Regions from separate parts of the Homo sapiens genome. Here regions 1, 2, 4, 5 and 6 are each linked to region 3. Evidence: promoter capture Hi-C in 16 types of primary human blood cells and fetal thymus (Javierre and others, 2016). All regions are on one chromosome and are shown on one strand. The core of a region is centred on a gene start or on the middle of the fragment in contact, and the rest is flanking DNA. Distances in the headings are between cores, read along the strand shown.

What was found. Contacts are between HindIII fragments. The CHiCAGO score rates a contact against its expected background, and 5 or more counts as called.
Region 1: a fragment that was not itself captured here is called in contact with the fragment with the promoter of GNRH2 in region 3 in 5 of 17 cell types (naive CD4 T cells, naive CD8 T cells, total CD4 T cells and 2 more); the score reaches 10.0 in naive CD4 T cells.
Region 2: a fragment that was not itself captured here is called in contact with the fragment with the promoter of GNRH2 in region 3 in 1 of 17 cell types (naive CD4 T cells); the score reaches 5.9 in naive CD4 T cells.
Region 4: a fragment that was not itself captured here is called in contact with the fragment with the promoter of GNRH2 in region 3 in 1 of 17 cell types (endothelial precursors); the score reaches 5.1 in endothelial precursors.
Region 5: a contact is called between a fragment that was not itself captured here and the fragment with the promoter of GNRH2 in region 3, in 4 of 17 cell types (naive CD8 T cells, total CD8 T cells, naive CD4 T cells and 1 more). The highest score is 7.4, in naive CD8 T cells.
Region 6: a contact is called between a fragment that was not itself captured here and the fragment with the promoter of GNRH2 in region 3, in 1 of 17 cell types (M0 macrophages). The highest score is 5.2, in M0 macrophages.

What each region holds. Positions count from the first base shown.
Region 1 is chr20:3,318,795-3,321,494 of GRCh38, forward strand. The region is part of intron 16 of DNAAF9 (dynein axonemal assembly factor 9); the gene reads right to left. Among named protein-coding and RNA genes, the nearest start is that of SLC4A11, 81 kb to the left of the region's middle. The HindIII fragment of the contact is 1,550 bases long and covers 511-2,060 here.
Region 2 is chr20:2,738,620-2,741,319 of GRCh38, forward strand. The region is part of intron 6 of EBF4 (EBF family member 4); the gene reads left to right. Among named protein-coding and RNA genes, the nearest start is that of EBF4, 47 kb to the left of the region's middle. RefSeq lists an enhancer at 1-524. The HindIII fragment of the contact is 5,127 bases long and covers 1-2,700 here.
Region 3 is chr20:3,042,350-3,045,049 of GRCh38, forward strand. It overlaps GNRH2 (gonadotropin releasing hormone 2), which reads left to right and starts at 1,273. Exons shown (of 4, transcript NM_178331.2): 1 at 1,273-1,316; 2 at 2,059-2,219; 3 at 2,351-2,487. The coding sequence starts at 2,066. The HindIII fragment of the contact is 14,485 bases long and covers 1-2,700 here.
Region 4 is chr20:2,761,785-2,764,484 of GRCh38, forward strand. No RefSeq gene overlaps it. Among named protein-coding and RNA genes, the nearest start is that of CPXM1, 37 kb to the right of the region's middle. The HindIII fragment of the contact is 1,158 bases long and covers 871-2,028 here.
Region 5 is chr20:2,666,799-2,669,498 of GRCh38, forward strand. IDH3B-DT (IDH3B divergent transcript) reads left to right here. Exons shown (of 3, transcript NR_186432.1): 3 at 710-2,655. Among named protein-coding and RNA genes, the nearest start is that of IDH3B-DT, 3.9 kb to the left of the region's middle. The HindIII fragment of the contact is 390 bases long and covers 1,160-1,549 here.
Region 6 is chr20:2,709,965-2,712,664 of GRCh38, forward strand. The region is part of intron 6 of EBF4 (EBF family member 4); the gene reads left to right. Among named protein-coding and RNA genes, the nearest start is that of EBF4, 19 kb to the left of the region's middle. The HindIII fragment of the contact is 1,192 bases long and covers 708-1,899 here.

The DNA of each region.
Region 1 (2,700 bases), core at 36-2,535, 280 kb after region 3:
TAGGCTAGGCATAATGACTCATGCCCATAATCCCAACACTTTGGGAGGTTGAGGCGGGTGGATCACTTGAGCCCAGGAGTTTGAGACTAGCCTGGGCAACATGGTGAAACCCCATCTCTACTAAAAATACAAAAAAAAATTAGCCAGGCATGGTGGCGTGTGCCTGTAATCCCAGCTACTTGGGAGGCTGAGGCAGGAGAATTGCTTGAACCTGGGAGGTGGAGGCTGCAGTGAGCTGAGATCGCGCCACTGAACTCCAGCCTGGGCAACAGAGCAAGACTCTGTCTCAAAAAAAAAAAAAAAAAAAAAAGAAAAAAAAATAGCCAGGCATGGTGGCGTCTGCCTGTGGTCTCTGTTATTCAGGAGGCTAAGGCAGGAGGATTGTTTGAGCCCAGGAGGTTGAGGCTGCAGTGATCTATGATCATGCCACTGCACTCCAGCCTGGGCAACGGACCGAGACCCCGTCTCAAAAAAAAAAAAAAAAAAAAAAAAAAAGCAAGAAAGCTATCAAGCTTTTATGGCCAAGACAAATAAAAGCTGAGGCTTCAGTAGCCTGGAAACAAAATTAGAACAACTCAGAGAGCTCCCAAATGTCTGGTAAGAAAGCCCTAATTTATTAGGTAAAAACTAGTGAAAATGAAACAATTCCGGGAAGAAGCCAGCAGAAGAAAGAGAAAATGATGTTAGCTAGAGCTAGAGTCTGTGATGACCAGGAAGATCTGATGAGGGACATGGGATAAGTAGCACAAGGACCTGTCCCCTCCTACCCTGAATAGTAGTGAGCGGTGGGTGCTGGTGCAGATCTCCTAAGTCCACTTTCACATATTGTCGTCCTAGCCTGGGACGCCTGTCCCACCCCTTAGGACAGAGACAAAAGATCTGAGGCTCTTGAACGGATTGCTGAATTTTCAAATAAAAACTTAAAGAGGCCACAAGGTTGAAAGGAAAAAAACCACAGTTAAGGCCAAAGCCCTTAATTTTCCATATTATTATGATAATAGGATATACAAAAGAGACAAGTAGGCGTCTATATTTGAATTAACTTTCCTTTCAGGTTTGACAACTGGAAGGTTTATCTAAAGCTGTCTCAAAGGATTTCGAGCATCTGAAGACACAGAACCCTCCTGAGCTACATGGTCCCTCTTAAGTGACAATGGCAATCCTATGTCTTTGGTTCCCAGACCAATCAGGTGGACAGATCCTGGGGGTTCCTGATCCTTCATGTTCATATTTGGCCACTGGTATTGAGGAAGGGAAGAGAGGATATTAAAAAGATAACATGTAGCATTTGTTGGACACTTGTTATGTACTTCCCACCATGTGGCACGGGGAAAGAAAAAATACAGCATGGTGCCTGTCTTCAGGAAATCTATAATGTATAGCTGGAGAAACAAGGGCATTCTTATATGAAGGTCATCATATGACACATTATGATATCATATGACACATTAGGATATAATTATTTCTTAATTTGTGTAGTACAAACTGCAACTGCAAGGACTATAGGAATACTTGTAGGGAGAAATCAACAGGGAAGGCTTTGGGGAGGATATAGAACTTCATCTCTGGATAAGAGGACAGAATGTAGACAAAAAGCATCAACTTCCTGCCTCTTATTTCCTATCTCATTAGCTGTGCATACTTGACGCAAGACTATGATTTTACTGGATTCCTAATCACCTGCTACTATGCAAAGCATCTTCCAAAGCACTGCTCAAGAGTCTAAGGAGAGAAGTCAGGGATTTAAAGTCTAACAAGGAGATAAAGTATTATCACCTAAATATCAGAAAGTATTTCCCAATGTTTTAATGATATCACAAAAAAGTCTAAACTAGTTCTAAAAGAACATCCACACAAAATGTTGACAGATGGGGACCAGGAACATTATAAAAACATAAATTACAACCTTAAAAAAATTACCCTTGTTGTGCTATTCTCTGTAGATAGGTTAACACTACTGACAGGAACTTTTGAGTTACTTTTCCACAGGTGATGGTGATGGGGATGCGCTTGTACCAAATTATCCACTGGGTGCTGCTCACCCAGTTCCCTGGGACCAAAGCTTTTTCAAACTAAGGCTCAGGCAGTGGTCACAGAACAGACTCAAGATATAACACACACCACAAACAGAATCTTGGCTAGATATGTACTACCCTCTCATGTACCATTTGCCAATCTTCTTCACATCAGGATGTTCTGGGGTAAAGGGAGGACTCAGCTTGTGGCTGAGAACAACTGGCCTAGAAACTCTGGCTCCCCTTCGCCATGCCATCCCACCCCAGGGACCATTATCTCAGTGCATCTCCAAACCATGCCCCCAGCACACAGGTTGGAAAACGTTGCTCTGACTACTCTACTTCATGGCAGACCCAGGTCCCTGTTGATTATTGGCCATTTAAATAATTATAGTCATGTATCACTTAATGACAGGGATACATTCTGAGAAATGCATCATTAGCTGATTTCATCACTGTGTGAACATTGTAGAGTGTACTTAAACCTAGATGGTGTAGCCTACTATACACCTAGGCTAGCTGGTATAGTCTATTGCTCCTAGGCTACAAACCCGTACAGCATGTTACTATACTGAATACTGTAGGCAATTATAACATGATGGTAATATTTGTGAATTTAGGCATATCTACACATAGAAATGGTGGGTAAAAATACAGTATTATGATATTATGGGACCACTGTTGT
Region 2 (2,700 bases), core at 74-2,573, 300 kb before region 3:
TTTGGGGAAAGTGGAGCCACTGCCACTCTTGGTGGGCAGCTGGGGGCCCCTTAGCAGTCTCTCCACACCCCCTCCCCTTCTCCTCAGGCCCCATGCCCAGCCCTGAGGTTTGGAGAGCCTAGTAAGTGCCCTATCAACATGTTAATCAAATTACTTAGGAGCTAAAATTGACGCTGTTCATTAATTATACAAGATTATGCTAATTGTGCATGCAAATGCATGCAGGGGAACAGAAGGTGTTCAGGCGCATGGTGGGCCATTAGCATAGAGGATGGGGTGCGGGTGCATTGGCATGCTAATGTATGCGCCCTGGCTATTTATAGTCCTCCAGCCCATCTGCACTGCAGCCACCTCTACCCGGGTGGGGATCATGGTGGGGAGGCCAGGTCCAGGCCTGGCAGGTGGCTGTGGCCCTGGGGACAGTCTATCTTGGCTTCTACCGCAGGCTAAGACCAGGAAGCAGCCTGGGCCAACCCCACATGGGCCTGAACTATTACAGTAAGCTCCTCATTTCCCTTCCCTTCTCTAGCGTAGGCCCTTTGGTGCCTGTTTCTGCCTGAAGGGAGACATCCCCTGTAGCCTTCCCATCACCCAGAGGATCCAAGTCCCGCATGATTTGGTCCCAACCCCAGGCCCCAAGCCACGCTGCCCTCCTCAGTCTTGTCAGGCACCACTGATCGAGTGAGCCGTCTGCCCCGTGGTGGAGCTGTTAGTCCCTTTGCATGGAGGGCCCTGCCTCCTACTTCTCGGTGAGATCCTCCAAGACCCATCACCCAAGACCAAATTGGAGCTCTAGGAAGCATTCCGCCTCCCCTAGGCAAAATAAGTGGCCACTGCAGATTACACTTGGCACATCCTCCTGCCGTGCCCACCACTCTGTCTTCCTGAGTTTCTCTTTCCTGTTGGGTTGTAATTTCCTTAAGATTTTATACAATGCCGCAGTGCCTAACACATAGAAGGTATTTAATAAATCTTTTTAAGTGGGTGTATGGAATGAATGAGGGGATGAATGGCCCAGCCCTCTGTGTCCTCCTCTGTCCCTGAGCTGAGGGTAGAGAGAAGCAGACAGTGAACACGCTGGAGAGCCAGAAACTGCTTCAGTTTCTTCGGAGGCTCATGGGAGCCCAAGACAAATCTTTTAGGATAAAAATTAGCGGAGATCCCTGTCCCCTTATTTCCCCATCTCAGGCTGCAGTGCCAGCTTTGGGCTTGGAAACACATATCCAATTTAATCTACCCTTCACTCTTAACCTGCTGTCTTTCCCAAGGCCTTCACAGGACACACTGTTGTTTGGAACATCCTGCCCCAGCTCGTATATCCATTCACTGCATACCTTCTTTCTAGATCTGCACTGTCCAATATGGTAGTCTCGAGCCACATGTGACTATTTAGATTTATGTTCATTAAAATGGCTGGGCGCAGTGGCCCACGCCTGTAATTCCAGCACTTTGGGAGGCCAAGGCGGGTGGATCACCAGAGGTCAGGAGTTCATGACCAGCCTGACCAATATGGTGAAACGCTGTCTCTACTAAAAATACAAAAATTAGCTGGGCATGGTGGCAGTCGCCTTTAGTCCCAGCTACTCAGGAGGCTGAGGCGGGAGAATCGCTTGAACCCAGGAGGTGGAGGTTGCAGTGAGCCGAGATCACGCCACTGCACTCCAGCCTGGGCAACAGAGCGAGACTCCGTTTCAAAAAAAAAATAGATTTATGTTAATTAAAATGAAATAAAATTCAGTTCCTCAGTTGCACTAGCCACATTTCCAGTGCTTAGTAGCCATGCGTGGCTAATGCATATCATTCTGGAAAAAGTTCCCTTAGGGAGCACTGTAATCTAGACACGTTCTTCCTTGCCCCTGACAGACCTGTAGTGGAAAATGCACTCGGGCTCTCCTTCCAGCTCTTTGAGTTACTGACAGCTTTCTCTTTGGAAGTGAGAACATAATTTCAGCCCTAAGTATCTCATGGGGATGCAGGGAAGAAAAAGCTGGTGAAAAGCCTTAGCTCTGTGACCTAAGTTTTCTTAGGGTGGGATTCCTGGAAGCAGAGCCTGAGATGGGGATTCTTGTGAAAGAGGTTTATCAAAGGAGAGCTCTCAGGAGAAAAGGAATGAGTATAGAGGGAGTTTAACAAGGAGGTGGTCTCGGTCGGAGTCTAGCGTCAGCCTATCCCATGCAGAGGTCTGGAGTGTGAATGGCCAGAGAGTTGGTCCTCCTTGTAATGTCAATCTGTCATTGGCTGTGGGCTACTGGTGGGGAGTATATGCTCTTGGCTGAGGGTAATTCTCAGATTACCTTGGGGCAGCTGCGAGCCATTTGACAGTCTACACTGCAGCTGGGGCATGAGGGAATCAGGCAGGCATCAACTCACTGTAAAGTTCCTGGACGTTGTCTTCCAAAAGAAGCTCCAGGCCAGGCATGGTGGCTCATGCCTGTAATCTCAGCATTTTGGGAGGCTGAATCAGAAGGATCGCCTGAGCCCAGGAGTTTGAGACCAGCCTGGGCAACGTACTGAGACCTCCGTCTCTACAAAAAATAAACAAAATTAGCTGAGCATGGTAGTGTGACCTGTAGTCCCACCTGCTCAGGAGGCTGAGGTGAGAGGATCACTTAAGCCTGGGAGGTCAAGGCTGCAGTGAGCCAAGATCACACCACTGCACTCCAGTCTGGGTGACAGAGCGAGACCCTGACTGAAAAAAAA
Region 3 (2,700 bases), core at 23-2,522:
ATCAAATTACAGAATAAATAAAGGCAACCATCCCCCTTTTAAAGGTACACCAGCCTTGGTGCATCTTTGAAGAAAGCATTCTGTAAACCCCAACCAGAACTAAACTAGTACGTCGAACTCAGATTCATTTTCACTAAACCACAAGCAAATGTTTCCCTAAAAATCACCCAGTTAACAAAGTCCGCATATTTAAGCCAAAACAATTTAACTGAACAAATGGGCCACACGTTGATTTCCGGTCCCTGCTAATAAGTCAGTCTGGAAGTTCACAGGTGTGCCCATCCTGCCTTGGCTGCTGAAGTCCAGGTGTCTAGGGCTGACTGATGCCCATTATGCCTCCCCTCCCCCATCTTTGTCACAGGATTTGACGCACCAGCTCTCCAAATGACCCTGGCCCTCCCATTTGCTGTTCAGCCCAAGTGCGGAGATTGGCTATGAACCCTGTAAACAGGCCTCTGACCCCCAGAGGCTGATGGCTGGCCAAGGAAAGCTGAGCTGCTGACGCAGACTGGGAAGCAAGAGCCCACTTCCAGCAGCCCAGGCTAGCTGTGTCCAAATCCATGACTGGGGAGGGGTTAGAGCCTTGAGGGACAAAATTATTCTACCTACCTAGGGAGACTGCACTGGCCCAACAGCTGGGCCCCATCTCATGGGCCCGCTTCTTCGCCAGGAGAGAAGCCACTCCGGGGTAGGTACTGCCCCACCCAAACCCAGCCATCTGGAGTGACCCAGCCCTGGTTCCCAGGTGTGTGGATGTGAATTGTCCCACCCAACCCACTCTACAGTGAGCAAACGGAAGCCCTCTGGGAGAGTGGTCACAGCCTCCCCTGTACCTCTGAACAGCCTGCCAGGCTCCCTACTCTTAGGCTTCCACTGTCCACCAGGGAAAGCCCTGAGCTGGGAGTTGGGGAGCCCCCAGGCATTGCCCCTGCCCAGGACACAATTCTCTTTTGGGATCAGGGAAGGCTGTGAGGGCTTTCTAGGTCTCAAGATCAGGAGCTTGAAGATGCAGCCTGGGAAGTGGGAAGGTGAGACCAGGACATAGGCCAGCCTAAAGCAAGAGTCCTGGGCCTGAAGGCTCCTGGGAAGGTGGTGGGGAGGGAGCATGTGTCGGTGGCCTCAGGGCAGCAGCTGCCTGGTGAATGTTCATGGACTGGATGCTCTGGGAAGCGGGTTGGGTGGTGAGCTTCTCTCTTCCCCTCTGAAGACGTCACTGGAGTCTGGGGGTGGAGCTGCCTGGTCTATAAATCCTGGGGCCATCAGGCTAGGGTCCTGCAGCTGCCTGAAGGAGCCATCTCATCCACAGCTCTTCCTTGGTGAGTGGGGAGCCTTCCCTAAGGGCTAGGACACCTGGACCAAGTTTCATCCTGGGCGTATGGTGTGCTGCTCCTCTTCCCCATTCCCAGGTGCCTCCACCCCTGAACCATGCCAGAGAAGTCCCCTTTTCCTCTCCTCTCCCCAACAGCTCTACCATCTATTCTTGTGCTTGTTGCCCCTGGCATGGGAGGGATAAGGGGTAGAAGCACTTGCCCCCATCAATACCACTCATCCATTCCACATCCCCAACTACTATGGAAGAGATACAGCAGGCCACGGAGAAAAGGGCAGAAGGCCTGCAACTCTGGTTCCCTAGCACTGGTGCTCCAAACACGCCTACATTGAGAACTCCCCTGACCATCCATCTATCCTCCCATCCATTGGCCTGAATTCAGGTCTCTGTTCCCCTCCAACTTTCTTCCACTTCTGGAAACTCCTTGAAGGAAAGATGGATGGACCTGGACAAGTGGGAGGGCCCTCAGAGCTGGCAAGGCAGGTAGCCTCTGTGCCCCAGGCTCAGGGAGAAGGCTCGTCCCCTGGAGCATCATCCCCTGCTGGGCCAGGATCCCCCAGGATCTGGACCCCTGTATGCTTGGGATGAGGAGCGGTGGCAGAGAGGGAAGGGCATAAGGAGATACCAAAGCTGCCCCTGAGATGCCAGTTTTCCAAAGTGGCCCTGGAGGAAGTAGGGGGATGTGGGGGTGAGGTAAGTCTCCTTGAATGCTGTACCCTGTCCATTAGAGCAGCCATGGCCAGCTCCAGGCGAGGCCTCCTGCTCCTGCTGCTGCTGACTGCCCACCTTGGACCCTCAGAGGCTCAGCACTGGTCCCATGGCTGGTACCCTGGAGGAAAGCGAGCCCTCAGCTCAGCCCAGGATCCCCAGAATGCCCTTAGGCCCCCAGGTGGGTGTCTCCCAGCCTCATGGGGAGGAAGAAAGTGATGGCCGGGGGCTCCCCCACCCTCCTGGAGCCTGAGGTCGGGGTAGGGAGGACAGCATCAGTTCCCTTCTAAGGAAGGGCCCTGGACACTGCAGCAGGCAGCCCAGTCCAGACTGCCCATGGCCTCCCAAGTGATGCCCTGGCTCCCCTGGACGACAGCATGCCCTGGGAGGGCAGGACCACGGCCCAGTGGTCCCTTCACAGGAAGCGACACCTGGCACGGACACTGCTGGTGAGTAGGGTGAGAGGTCCCCAGCATCAAGACCAGCCACTGGTCATCAGAGGCCATTGTGGCTTAGGGTTGGGTGCTGGGAGGGTGGGGAGAATGAAACACCACTGAGATGCCCCCTGCCACAGCACCCCCAGCCATTTCTCAGTGCCCCTACTGCACACAGCAGGGTGCTGTCTGCTATCCTTCCTATTTCCCAGGAGGATTCTAGACAAT
Region 4 (2,700 bases), core at 200-2,699, 280 kb before region 3:
TCCCCACTACATGGAGGAAAAATCACCAGTTAGGCTTTGTTGTAGAATATTGTCAGCAAATTCTGGGACAGTAATCCGAGATGATGTGGACAGGGCACCAAGAGCCTCTGCTATGCCACAAAACCACCGTGATGACAGAATCATTTTCAACGAAGCTACTGATCAGAGTTGTTATTTGAGATGAAAACTATTAGCCAAGTCAATATCACACCAGGCCTTCTTGTAGTCTATAATCAGTGAGGAGCAAGTCAAACTGCTGACCATGAGTCAGTACAAGACCGGCCCACCAGCAAACCGGGGCCTGTGTCTGGGTCTGTGGCACCTTCTGCAAAGCAACTGGGGCATCTTCTGGGCCTTGCAAATGGAACACCTTTCAGACTTCCCACATCCTGTAGTCAAAGAGGTTCCATTCTCAATAGCACCTGAGGATGACATTAAGCCAAGTGGCAGAAACTTGGCCTGGAGCTTACATAAATCTGTAGTGGAGACCCACTACCCAATAAATGCTATCAAATGACTAGGTCTTAGTTTAGCTCAGTCCTGAGGCCTTGCACACAAGTAGAATTGATTGGCTCATTGGCATTCATCCCTACAGAGCCTGGATATCCCAGGCAAGTGATGAAAATCCTAACCTTAGCTCCAATTCCTATGTGAATATTGGTCAGGGTGGGATCATTCGCCTGGAATGGAAGTTGTCTTCATTTCAGTTCCCCCAGCAGCAGACCTTGGGACAGGAGGTGGGTCCAGATGGTTTATTTGGGCAACAATTGCAGAACGCACCGGTCAGGGGAGCAGGGAGGGGAGGCAGCAGAAAGAAGGAAGCCCAATACAGAGTGCTACTGAGCACGCTACTACTGTGGGTTTTTCTGAAGCTTAATCCCAGCTGGGAGCTCTGGGAGGCTATAAAATGCATACCTCAGGAATTTCGCACCTGAGGAGTGAGGCAGCTGGGGTACTTATACACTAATTCTCATCAGTCAGTGGTTAGGGCTTCTGGATGGAGTGGGAGGGCAGCACTAGCTTTCTGGCACCTCCAGTCTTCCCCACAGGTGGTAAAACAGTCCCAGTAGCTAGAGAAAACACTCAGACAAAGAGAAGCAGGAGCTGACAGTTGGAATCAGACAGGAGTACACAGAGGAGGTACAGATGAGGGGATGTGGGTGGGGCACATACCTGGAGGTGGTCCCTGGCAGTCATCCAGGGGAAGATGGTTTTTTCTACTTAAAGTAAGTTTGGAGTAGGCATGGATTTTTCCTATATCTGCAGATCCCACCTCTACCTGGCACCAGGTGACAAAAACTGCCCAGGCTATTTCTTGTTGAAGTACCAAGATGCCAGGTGACAAAGGGGTCCCTCTCAGCGTCAGCCCACCCCCAGGCTTCTAATGGGGGTGGGAATAGAAAGGGCACCAGACGCTTGGCTGCTCACCGTTCAGAGAGAGTGCATCTCCAGTAAGTCCTCTGCTTTCCTCTTACAAATTTTTCCCAGCAGAACCAGGCTGCTACACTTTGCATCTGACCCTGGGGACCAGAGAGCTTCTGGGGCTACATTTTGGCTCAGACAGGACCCGCTATAGACAGGTCTCACTGGCTCAAGAGAAGCCAGGCAGCAGCTTTGACCAGCCCTCTGCTGACTATTCTGCAAAATAGCATTCTCCCTGCCCCCTCCCCATATTGGCAGAGCCTTTTAACTTCTTCCAAAAAGAAAAATCCCCTAGAGAAATGGAAACTGCTGCGCAGTGTGGAAAGGATGGTCTTTTAAAAATATGACGTTAGAGCCCAGGCAGCTATTTGGGAGGCTGAGGCAGGAGGATTGCTTGAGCCCAGGGGTTTGAGGCCAGCCTGGGCAACAAGTGAGACCCCCATCTCTCAAAAAAGAAAATGGTGTTGGGTTAATTGGATAGCCATATGCAAAAATTACATTTGGCCTCTACCTCACACCATACACAAAAATCAATTTCAGGTGGATTGTGGATGGAACTGTGAAACCTAAAGCAATAAATCTTTACGCCCCTGAAGATAGACTAGAAGCTTTTTGCCAGAGTGATATCCAAGGTCTGTTTTTCTACCCATGTGACCAACTTTGGAATGAAGCAAGCACTGGACATATTTGAAATGGTTCAAATGGACCCTAAAGTCTCTTTTCACTTCTCTAGGAGAACTTTTCCAAATAGGAAAAAGTTCACAGTTCACAGTGTCTTTCTACCCGAGGAGAGACTAGGTCTTCATGGTTAGTGATTTCCCAAAGCTCTTAACTGCTTATCCTGGGCCAGCCGCCTTCCCCACCCTGTCCACAGCTCCCTCCTCTGCTACCACCTCAGTGGTAGTAACAACACTCACTGGGTGATGGAAGGGAATGGGTCACCTCCTTGGAGCCACCAGCCTAGAAGTTGGCCGTTCACAAGAAGACCTTCACTGTGAGAGTCCTGATGGGGGCGAGGCATCGACCACAAATATGGACCTAGCATCCTCTTATCACTTCTCCCATGCTCCCCTTCTCTTCACTCTTACTAAGAGGTGTGTGTGTGTGTGTGTGTGTGTGTGTGTCAGGGTTTCACTCTGTCACCCAGGCTGGAGTGCAATGGCACAATCATAGCTCACTCCTGGGTTCAAGCAACCCTCCTGCCTCAGCCACTTGAGTAGTTGGGACTACAGGTACCACACCCAGCTAATTTTTTAGGGGGTAAGAGATGGAGGTCTC
Region 5 (2,700 bases), core at 105-2,604, 380 kb before region 3:
GTTCAGTGTGAAGCTGAGTGACTTGAATGTCTGCTTCCCAGGCCTGCAAATCCTCCAGCACAGGAGTCCTGACTTGGGATCTACAGAACCCCCTAGGTGTCCATGAATAGGAATCAGCACTGTGAACCTGGATGGGGGAAAAACCAAAAATCACATCTTTATTCTCACTAACCTCTAACTGAAGTTTAGCATTTCCTTTCATTATGAATGCAGGTCACAGATTACAGTGCTGCCTGTAGTACTCTTGACTTTGTCAATCATAAAAAGTATAGATATTTTCATACCACATTTTAGTTGTAGTAGATCTCTCAAAATATCACTTACTTTAATCCTATTTTTACATTATTTGACCCAATGCTAGATTGTGTTATTTAATGAATTAATAAAGCAGCAAACATAGTAGTATGTTACAAGGTAGCTTTTATTCCTTTTCTCCTTTTAGAGAGATGGTTTCAGTCTGTTCCCCAGGCTAGGGTGTGATCACGGCTCACTGTAACCTCAAACTCCTGGGCTCAGGTGATCCTCCCACCTCAGCCTCCCAAGTAGCTGGGACTACAGGCATGCGCCACCATGCCTAGCTAATTTTTAAATATTTTGTAGACATGAGGTCTTGCTATGTCGCCCAGGCTTGTCTTAATCATATTTGTCTTGTAATTCTATTTATTTTATATACTTAAAAGTCTCTTTTTTTTTTTTTTTTTGGAGACAGAGTCGCTCTGTTGCCCAGGCTGAAGAGCAGTGGGCGATCTCAGCTGAGTGCAAGCTCCACCTCCCGGGTTCACACCATTCTCCTGCCTCAGCCTCCGGAGTAGCTGGGACTACAGGCGCCCGCCACCACGCCCAGCTAATCTTTTTGTATTTTTAGTAGAGACAGGGTTTCACCGTGTTAGCCAGGATAGTCTCGATCTCTTGACCTCGTGATCCACCCGCCTCGGCCTCCCAAAGTGCTGGGATTACAGGCATGAGCCACTGCACCCGGCCTAAAAGCCTCTTCTAAGAAAGGTTCCACAGGCTTCACCAGCCTTCCAAAGAGGTCCGCTGCACACAAAAGTTTCAGAATTTCTGGTGTATTAGGCCTACTGGATCTTTTTCTGAAACCATGAACAATCAAAAGAGTAATATAACCAATGACAATTCCTTGAAAATTAACGTCTGAAAAAGCTTCTTGGGAGAATTTGATCTGTGATTGAAAGGATAAACAGAATTACAGAGGAGAAGTGATTACACTCAGGGAAAATGGAAATGTAAGCAAAGCTACTGTTTCAGATCAACTGCCCTAGAAGCAGAGCCCAAGACAGGGATTCTATGCAATTGACCTGTTGAAGGAGTGCTCTCAGGAGAAACACATCAGAAGGTGAATGAGCAGAATATGGAGGGGAAGGAGCTCAGCAAGATGTGGCCTCAGCCAGAGTCCACCTCAGCCCCATCTCCTGGGGAGCTCTGGAGCATTAGTGACAACTCAAGGTTGTCATGATTTGAGACAAGGCTTAACAACCCTGCTTTGCCCCTGCATGGCATAGGCCAGGGCCAATCCTTCAGAGAAGGGGGAAGCTTTGAGCCGTTAGTGGCAAATACCTGAAGCAACTGGGGGAATGGATACACCAGCTTGCCAAGAGGACCTGGCCAAGGCAGACACTACCTTGCGGAGGTGACAGTGAACATAGCGTGCTGACGAACAGTGAGGTGGGCAGATATATTTGAGGAGATGAGTTATAGTGAGGATTGGTGAGTAAGTAGGACTGGTGCATGTTCAAGGTCCGAGAGAAACAGAGAGAGTTTTGTGAGCAATACTAAGCACCCTGTTGAGGTTGGTGACCATGAAGTTTATTGTGGTGCAATTGTGTGTGATTTCACGGTGAGAGCAAACCAAAAGTGAGTTCATCCAAAAGTGATATTTTGCTAGAGAGTGGTACAAGGGAGTTGAGAGTGTTGGCAAAATGGGATCAGGAGGCAAGTGAAGACAGAAGAGATCTAATCAACAGGCAGCTGAGGAAAGAATCAAAGACCCCCCCAAAATATTCAAAGAGTAGTACTTGTGGGAGTTGTTGAGCAAGTAACATGGGAAGAGAGGACGCTGCTTCCACCAGTGGTTTTGGAGGTGGAGTAGATGCTGGTGATAATGAAGTCCCAGATAGGAAATGGGAGTGGATGCCAAGGAGATCTCAAGGACCCTGCAGATGAGGACTCAAACCCACAATATTGATGAGGCATCCATGTCACCATGGGAGTCAACGAGGATAGTGGCCTCAGCTGAGGCAGGGAAAAGCTGGGATCCAAGTGACATAGTCTTCTCTTGATAAGCAAGAGAGACCAGGAGATGAGAGATGGCAGAGAATGAGAGAGGTGATATCAGTTACCAGAAAGAGCCCCTAAAAGGCAACACTTCTTTTTTTCCATTAGTTTTAATATAGAATTTTGCTTTAGTACTTTTAATTAGATAACCCTCTTTTAAAAATATATATTTTTTAAAATATATTTTTTTCTTACCATACCAACTCACAGCCCCAATCTTTTTGCCCTAACCTCAGAATCAGTTAGTTGTCCGCTTTAAAACCCTTTTCTTACACACACACACACACACACACACAGAATATATAGTATTGTTTTTGGTGTATGAGTGTGTGCGTCGGAATAAATGGTTTCATACTCTATATACTTACTGTTTTATAATTTACCTTCTTCACTCAACACTGTATCTCA
Region 6 (2,700 bases), core at 54-2,553, 330 kb before region 3:
GGCCAGCGTGGTCATGTCAGCAAAAACCAGGCTCAGGTTCCCAGTTCACCCCTGTGCTGTCTGACCTGACTTCTCTGAACATTCGTTTCTTTCACTGGAAAAGTGGGGAAAGAGCTGGCAGGTTTCAGTCATAGAATTGTCGAGGTGATGCATGTAAAAGTGCATTTGCACACCATGATTTCTATTTCTTTATTTTGTGTGTGTGTGTTTGTTTTGTTTTGTCGCCCAGGCTAAAGTGCAGTGGTGTGGTCATGGCTCACTGCAGCCTCAATCTCCGAGGTTCCGGTGATCCTCCCACCTCAGCCTCCCAGGTAATTGGGACTACAAGGACACGCCTCCACACCTGGCTAATTTTTTGTATTTTTTGTAGAGACCGGGTTTTGCCATATTGCTCAGGCTGGTCTTGAACTCCTGGGCTCAAGCAATCCACCCACCTCGACCTTCCAAAGTGCTGGGATTACAAACATGAGCCACTGTGCCTGGCCTACTTCTTTTTGAAGAGGAAATGCATAAATAAGGTGTAAAATTCAAATGGTACAAAACAGTAAATAATGAAAAGGAAGTCTCCCTCCACCCCTATGTAGAGCATACTGTACATGTTTTTTTTTTTTGGTAACAATATATTTTAGATATTCCACACAGGAACATAAACCATATCTTATTCTCCTTTTAATAGAAAAAGCATTCATAGGTGCAAAAATTCAAGAAGCTTAAAAGGGTTTACAGCAAACTGTCTCCCACCTCTGTCTCCCACCCATCCATTCCCCACCAAATAAGCTACCACTATTAGCAGTTTCTGTTGTATCCTTCCTGAGATAGTCTGTGCATATACAACAAAATAGTTATATGTTCTTTTTGTACCCTTTCCTTTTGTTTTTATAAAAATGGTGACAGTGGCTGAGTGCAGTGGCTCATGCCTGTAATCCCAACACTTTGGGAGGCTGAGGCAGGGGGATTGCTTGAGCCCATGAGTTTGAGACCAGCCTGGCCAACAGGGTAAAATCCCATCTCAACAAAAAATACACACACAAAAATTAGCTGGGCATGGTGGTGTACATCTGTGGTCCCAGCTACTCAGGAGGCCGAGGTGGGAGGATCACCTGAGCCCAGGAGGTCTAGACTGCAGCGAGCTGTGATTGTGCCACTGCACTCCAGTCTGGGCAACAGAGTGAGACCCTGTCTAAAATAATAATAATAATAATAATAATAATAATAAAATTAAATTAAAATTAAAATGGTGGCAGGAAGCAGAACTTTCAGCACCTTTCTTTTTCCTTGAAAAATTTAGATCTGGGAGTTTACATCAGGACACAAGAAGTCTCCTTATTCTTTTTTGCCACTGCAAAATATTTCATTGTATGGGTATGCCATAATTTATTTAAATAGTCAGATATTGCTGGACATTTTGGTTGTTTTCATCCCTTTTCAGGGATTTAAAAATGCTGCAGTGAATTACTTTGTCCATGTGCCATTTCACACGTGTAAATTTATATGAAGGCTATTACTAAGTAGAATTGCTGGGACAAAGAATATGTGCATTTGTAGTTTTGATAGCTACTGCCAATTCGATCTCTGTAGGGGTTATACCAACAGCATTGAAACCAGCAATTTTGAGAATGCCTATTCCTTACACTCTGGCCAATTAAGTATTTTTGTTTATTTGTTCAATCAACAATTCTTGAGCATCTACTCTGTGCTAAGAACTTTTCTACATGCTGTGGATTAAGCAATGACCAAAATAGACAAAAAGCCTTGTGTTCACGGGCTTACAATCTGGTAGGGGAAATAGACATTAACAAACTAAATGAAAAAAATACATAGCATGTTAGATGGTGATAACAGCTAAGAAAAATAAAGCCATTGAGGAAGATCTGGGAGTGCCTAGGAAGGAAGGTTTGAAGCTTTAGGGTATTTAAGGTCTCACTGAAAAGATGACATTTGAGCCAAGACCTCAAGGAAGTAAGAGAGTGAGCGATGTATTTATGTATCTGGGGGAAGAATATTCTCGGCAAGAGTGTGCCTGCTGTGTTTAAGGGAAAACAAGGAGGCCCAGGTGGCTGGAGCAAGGAAGGTAGTAGGAGGAAATGATGTCAGGAATAATGAATGGGGCAGAGGAAGGCACGACCATGCAGGGTCTTATAGGCTGCATGGAGGCCACACTTGTGGGTCATTGTAAGGGCTTTGGCAGGACATGGAAGCCATTGAGGGGTGTTGAGAATGATAAGACCTGCCTTATATTTTAGCAAGATCACTCTAGCTGCCATATTGACAATGACCTGTACAAGGCAGGGAGATGAGTTAGGAAGCCAGTACAATAGCCCAGGTGAAGGATGATGGAAGCTGAGACTAGGGATGCTATAGGGGAGGTTGTAAGAAGCGGCTGCATTCTGTGTACATTTCATTTCATAGGCAGGACTGACAGGATTTGTTATGGAAGGAGAGAGAGAGAGTCAAAGACTCAAAGATGTCTCCAAGGTTTCTGACCTATCAACTTAGAAGGATGGAGTTTCCTGAGAAGGGTGTGATTTGGGGAAGAGCAGGTTTTGGAGGAGAAAGATCTGGAGTTTGGTTTGAGCATGTTATGTTTATGATGCTCACTAAACATCCAAGTGAGGAGCTGAAAAAGCCACAGAAAACATGAGGATGGGACTCAAGAGAAAGGTTCAGGCTGCAGATGTAAATTTGAATGAATGAAATCAT